Regions from separate parts of the Homo sapiens genome. Here region 1 is linked to region 2. Evidence: promoter capture Hi-C in 16 types of primary human blood cells and fetal thymus (Javierre and others, 2016). All regions are on one chromosome and are shown on one strand. The core of a region is centred on a gene start or on the middle of the fragment in contact, and the rest is flanking DNA. Distances in the headings are between cores, read along the strand shown. Region 1 overlaps PRPS2 (phosphoribosyl pyrophosphate synthetase 2). Region 2 holds the start of TLR7 (toll like receptor 7).

Region 1 (3,150 bases), core at 171-2,670, 51 kb after region 2:
ATTCAGGGACACCAAACCACAAACATTCAGTGCAATATTTATTGTTTTTTATTTCCGTAGGAAACACAGGACCAATGATGTCTTCTGACAACTGTTTCCTGATGATTTGTTGGGTTTATTGGATCTGAGGATCCTCGGATCCAATAAACCCAACAAATGAATTCCCAAACAATCTTAACAAAACTATAGAAGACCAAGAAAGCTTAAAAGAGACAAAGAATAAAGACAAGTCACCTAGTAAGGATGGCCAAGTCCTCAACTTCCCCAATGGAAGCCAGAAGTTATGGAGTCATATCTTCAATGTGATATGAGAAAATAACTCTCAGGCTAGGAGTCTATACTCAGCAAAACTGCCTTTCCAGAAGGAGAGCAAAATAAAGATAGTTTCAGCCAAACTATACAACCTGAGAATTTATTTCTAACATATAACCACTTAAAGAATGCAACTTAAGCAAAAGGAAAATCACCACAGATACATTGAGATGTGGTGAGGGGCAGGGGCAGAGAAAGGTAAGCAAAGATATTGATCAATATGTGGACAAATCTAAACAAATGTTGATTGTACAAAACCAAAATAATAATAATGTCTACTTTGTGGAGAAGGAAAAACTAAAGCATATAGTAGCTAAGCATGGTGGCTCACACCTATAATCCCAGCATTTTGGGAGGCCGAGGCAGGCAGATCACTTGAGCCCAGGAATTGGAGACCAGCCTGGGCAACATAGTAAAACCCCATCTCTACAAAAAATACAAAAATTAGCCAGGCATGGTGGCATGCGCCTTTAGTTCCAGCTACTTGGGAGGCTAAGGTGGCAGGATTACTTGAGCCTGGGAGATCGGGGGCTGCAGTGAGCTGTGATCGCGCCACTACACTCCAGCCTGGGCAACAGAGCAAGACTCTGTCTCAAAAACAAAAAAACCACATAGTAAGGTGGTGGTCATAAATCCAACTATGTCAATTATCATAAAAGAAAAGGGACCAAACTTTCCAGTTAAACACAGAGACTGTGAGATAAGAGAATAAGACATCAACGTCCTTGAAGCAAAGGGAATCATTACTATATTGAGGTCCATGTTTCTCCTACCCTTAGAACACTCATCCTACCCTTAAAACACTCATTCTTCAGGATGCAACCAAAACCACAGTAGCCCTAGCAGATACCCTTTGTTTGTAAACTTGTCTAGCTGTCAACAGTTTCCTTACTTAAAGATTTAATTAAAAAAATTAATTTAAAGGCCAACAAAAATTTTGCTCCATCATCACCTTAAAACACCTACAGTTCAGCCAGGCACGGTGGCTCACAGCTGTAATCCCAGCACTTTGGGAGGCCGAGGTGGGTGGATCACCTGAGGTTAGGAGTTCAAGATGAGCCTGGCCAACATGGTGAAACTCCATCTCTACAAAAATACAAAAAGTAGCCGGGCATGATGGTGGCTGCCTGTAACCCCAGCTACTTGGGAGGCTGAGGCGGGAGAATCGCTTGATCCCGGGAGGTGGAGGTTGCAGTGAGCCAAGATCACGCCATTGCACTCCAGCCTGGGCGACTGAGCGAGACTCCATCTCAAAAAACAAACAAACAAAAAAACACGTACAGTTCTATTATCTACATGCCAATGTCATAAAAGCCACTCAAACTCCAGGTAAGGAAAGCTACTTTCTGGGAACATGAGACAGGTTTTCCCAAGACACATGAACACCTCGCACAAAATGTCCACATACATTACCGTCTGCTTATTTGGTAACGACTAGGCAGATTTGGGCATGACAGGATACCAATCCACAGCCCAGCACTGGGAAGCACTGCCCTTTGTGGTGGAAGTTCTATACCGGAGAAGTTAAAGCAGAACCTGTTTTCATCTCTCTGCCAGGTGGCGCCTGTTCTCACGAGCCTGCTCACAAGCAGACAGCAGGGTAGGCATGGAAGTGGGACTGGGAAAGAAGGTGAGCTCTGTGGTTCTTGGCAGTGGGGGACACAGACATCTCACTTGAGTGGGGAGCCCTAGCCACTAAAAGGTATCCAATGGTAATGTCAGAAGAAGAAGATAAGAGAAAATACCCCTGCAAACAGCTTCCTGGGTTGTTAGAACGCTATGATTTCCTGAAAAAGCTATAGGTAACTCTTCTTTTCCTTGTATATCATGGAGACCTAATACATACTCCTAACAAATGATGTTGACACAACATACCACACTGAAATCTTAGGCAGAAAAAGGCAGAACGAAAATTATATACATACAGTTTTGGATTTCTTCTGGGCACATATTTACAATCTTTTCTCTGTGGGTGCATGTGCCATATCAGCTCCCCCAGGAGAGACAGATACATAGTACACCAAATTATTCATAGTGGCATCACTGGTTGAGATATAAAGTGTTAAGATTTTCTTCTTTCTACTTTCCAAATTTCCTATAGAGCATCTTCAAAGATTATGTAATCAGAAAAAAAGTTAAATCTGAGTTATCTAGTTTTACCCTCTTCCCATACCACTTTTAGGTTGACACTTGCTATCTCAGCAGTGGTAGGTAGGTTTCTTAGGTTTAATTTTCTTTCCGTGGTCAACCCAACCAAGCTACAAAGCCTACCCAAGAGTGACCTCCTGTGGCAACATTCAGTTTTACCCGGAACGAGTCAAGCTTCAAAGCTTTTTCTAAAGCAACAAGCTCCAATTGGTCAGACAGAAATTTACAGTATTTTATTTTGCTAACTATGACCTTTTGCATCAAGCAAAGAAGTCACAGATAATGTCAACTGCATATGTCATGTATTACCCGCAAGGCTGTTCTGAGGAGACTGTCAGTTGGGGGCTAGAATATGAGGATGACAATAATGTGTAGCAGAAACACTTGGAAAAGAGAAAGGAGGTGACAAAAATTCTGAAATGTACTTCCCTAAAAAGCTTGATTTTCCTGGCAGAGGGAGCAGGGGTGATTGAGTGCAGACTGCTTGAAAGGAGGTCTCAACAAAACAAAACAGCATCTCAACCCCAGCCATTTATTCTGTTTACTTTATTCTGCATTTTTTTAAAAGTAGGAGTTGGCAAATAGCTATCTATTTGAAATGGGGAACTCTGTATATGATGAAAGATGCCATTTCAAATCAATAGAGGTGGATTATTTAATAAATAGTTTTGGAAAAACTAGACAGTAGAG
Region 2 (2,982 bases), core at 463-2,962:
ACAAAATGAGCCTAGGAGCTAACATTCGGATCTAGAATGTGTCTGATTTAAGTGACAAAATAATTTCAGAAAAAGGCCCTTGACGTCTTTTTCCGACTAAGTTTTGGCATACCTAATAACTCACACTTGCATCATACCACTTGCAAAGGACTTGAAAAATAGTCTATTATTTGAGCCTCACAGTGGCCCTGGAAGGCAACAGGGGAGGGATTCTAATGCCTATTTCATAGTCAGAGAAATTGAGTTTCAGAGGACTTTGATGACAGGCACAAGGCCCCCCCAACTAGTGACTGGGAGAGCCAGCGCTGACAAAGACTCTCCTTAATTCAACTTAATCAGGCTCTACTACACCCCTAGGCTTCGGCCTTTGGCTTCATGTCCATCTTTGCATTGCCCAGTTCAAGCAGGAATCCTGCTAAGTCATTTTATTGATAATCCACTCCTCTTGGTATGTGATCACCCTCAATATCTGATCAAATTCCTCATCTCCCACCATCCACAGGTGAGGTCTGATCACCCTGGCCTGTCTTCAGCAAGAATCCTGTCAGGTCGGTTTAGCCAGAATCCTTTTACCCTTGATGTTTCCTCTTAGTAATTTTCCATCCACTGACCCCCACTCTACTCCTTGGCCAGAAATCTTTACTGGTCTTTGGCTGTATTTGGAATTGAGCCCCTTTCTATACTGAGGTCTCTTTCTGCCGATTGCAATAGTCCTGATAGTATCTTTATCTACTGTCCAAATTTAGTTTTCTTTGACAGCACTCAAGCCCGGGGATTTCCCGTATTTTATTGCTATGAGCCTGCCCACACACTTTCATCCACACAGTCATTAAGACAACACCATATGCTGGAAAAAGCACAAAGTAACTTCAGTAATTCAGTGATTTGTTATGGCTTTAAAGCCAAAATTGTAGGCTGAAGAAATGAGATACATAGAAGCTATGTCCCCAATTCAAACATCTGCTCCTCCTCCCCACAGCACATATTTAATTCTTGTAGGAAGTTGAACAGAGCAAGCGTTGATTAATCTGAAATTGTGACATGCCCCCTTCATTAATGCCAATTGTGAAATATCAGGAAGCACTTTCCCCCAGCAAATAACCTAAGTACAGATTCTTCAATATTGCTCTTGCCAGCTGGTTTCAGTTGTTTCCACAAAGATTACAGATAACACTTTTTAAGGTTCTCTGAGCTGTTCTTACCATTTTTAGTCTTCTTCCAAAATGGAATGTAGAGGTCTGGTTGAAGAGAGCAGAGCATGAGAGGTGCCAAGATCAGCTTGAGATGGGCCCAATAGCATCAACTAAGAGAAAGAGAAGACATCAAAGTTTACATTTCAAAGACAGCACAATACTGTAGCTTAAAGACATGCTAGGATCATTGCTTTAAAATGCGTTTGAAACATCTATTTACAGTATTTACTTCCTCAAAGTTAGGTAGACTGGAGACATATTCCAGAAAACCATTTCTAACGTTACTGAAAGCCTAACTTTATCTTTGAAGAATTGACATTTTAGACTACCACATTTTTTATTTATATTCTAAAAAAAATTTTTGTGCATATGATTTCGGTTCCCTCTTCTCTCCTCCCCACTTCCTTATAACAGCACATACATCTACCTACTTAAATTATCTATATGTGTTCCAATGTTTAAAATACCTTTCTTGATGGCATGGAGTGATCCTATATCTGGAGTCTTCTGAGATGAAGTGATGGGAGGCAGGAAGTGTAGTCACAAAGACTACAGGCAGCCAGCCCTGGAGTTTCCAACTACAAAGATCAGGTCGGGGGATGGGGAGGAGCATGATTATTTAAGCCACCCCAGATATGGGCTTTGCAAAAGCACGGGGTTCCTCTTATTTCTATCACCACTATTGGGGCAACGTCTTGTCTAAATCCAAACAACTCTGTAGACCAAATTTCTTTCGTTTTTATAGCAGGGTTTCTCACCCTCAGCACTATTTACATTTTTGACCAGATAATTCTCTGTTGCACCATAGGATATTTGGTAGCACCCTTGCTCTATACCCACTAGATGCCAATAGCACTGCCCCCTTCCAGTTATGACAATCACAGATGTCTCCAGACATTGCAAATTATCCCCTAAGGGGCAAAAACACCCCGGGTTGAGAACCACTGTTCTATAGATATATTAGAGACATATCTAAATTTACCTTATTCTGTCTTAGACCCAGCTGGAAAGGATGCTGGTTTTTAAGCAGTGGCAAAGCTACCAGTTGGTTCACTCACTTTCCTCTAAAAAAGTTCAGCTGCATTTGCTTCTCAAAGTGTGGGCCCCAAGAGAATTGTTCCTTTCTTAACTGATTATTGGACATTTTGTAGATAGAGCCAAAATATGGTAGTTATGTTTAAAGTTCTTTAATCTACTTAGTCCACCTGGAGAGAATTTGGATGATGTAGAGTGTGGCACGGGGACTTCTGCAGATAATGATCAGGGTTAACATATACTGGGCTGAAAACTCAATGGTGCAATAGAGCAGCTCAAAAACCAGATACAGTAATAAGTGACATTTATTGAGGGTTTTTTATGAGCCAGACACTGTTTTAATGACTTTATATGTATTATCTCATTAAATACTAAAACTATATAAAATAGAGATCTTATTACCCATTTTTTACAAATACTGGAATTTATAACAGAAGAAATATTGGATTTGCCTCAAGTCACATAGCAAGTGATACCCACACAGGCAGTAAAAACCAAATGTCTCCTTATTAAACCACTCTGCTATGCAACGATATGTAAAAATCAATAGTTTTCTCATACATAAATAATTACTGATCCAAATTGGTAATAGAAGAAGAGGTCCCATTCAAATCAGTGAGATCTGAAATGCTTTGGAAGAAAACTGATGGGAAATGCACAAGAACTAAGGTGGTGGGGGGAGGATGGGGACTATAATGCTTTACCTGGCAGGTGCAAGCTTTCTCTTTGCCCCACCAGACCCACTGTCTCAGCC

Evidence for each region. The method cuts DNA at HindIII sites, captures the fragments that hold promoters and counts their contacts. A CHiCAGO score of 5 or more calls a contact.
Region 1: a contact is called between a fragment that was not itself captured here and the fragment with the promoter of TLR7 in region 2, in 3 of 17 cell types (total B cells, monocytes and naive B cells). The highest score is 7.5, in total B cells.

The regions. Positions count from the first base shown.
Region 1 is chrX:12,814,076-12,817,225 of GRCh38, reverse strand. The region is part of intron 4 of PRPS2 (phosphoribosyl pyrophosphate synthetase 2); the gene reads right to left. Among named protein-coding and RNA genes, the nearest start is that of PRPS2, 24 kb to the right of the region's middle. The HindIII fragment of the contact is 2,432 bases long and covers 205-2,636 here.
Region 2 is chrX:12,865,802-12,868,783 of GRCh38, reverse strand. TLR7 (toll like receptor 7) reads right to left here and starts at 1,712. Exons shown (of 3, transcript NM_016562.4): 1 at 1,661-1,712; 2 at 1,203-1,303. The coding sequence starts at 1,205. RefSeq lists enhancers at 665-784, 805-874. The HindIII fragment of the contact is 8,610 bases long and covers 1-2,948 here.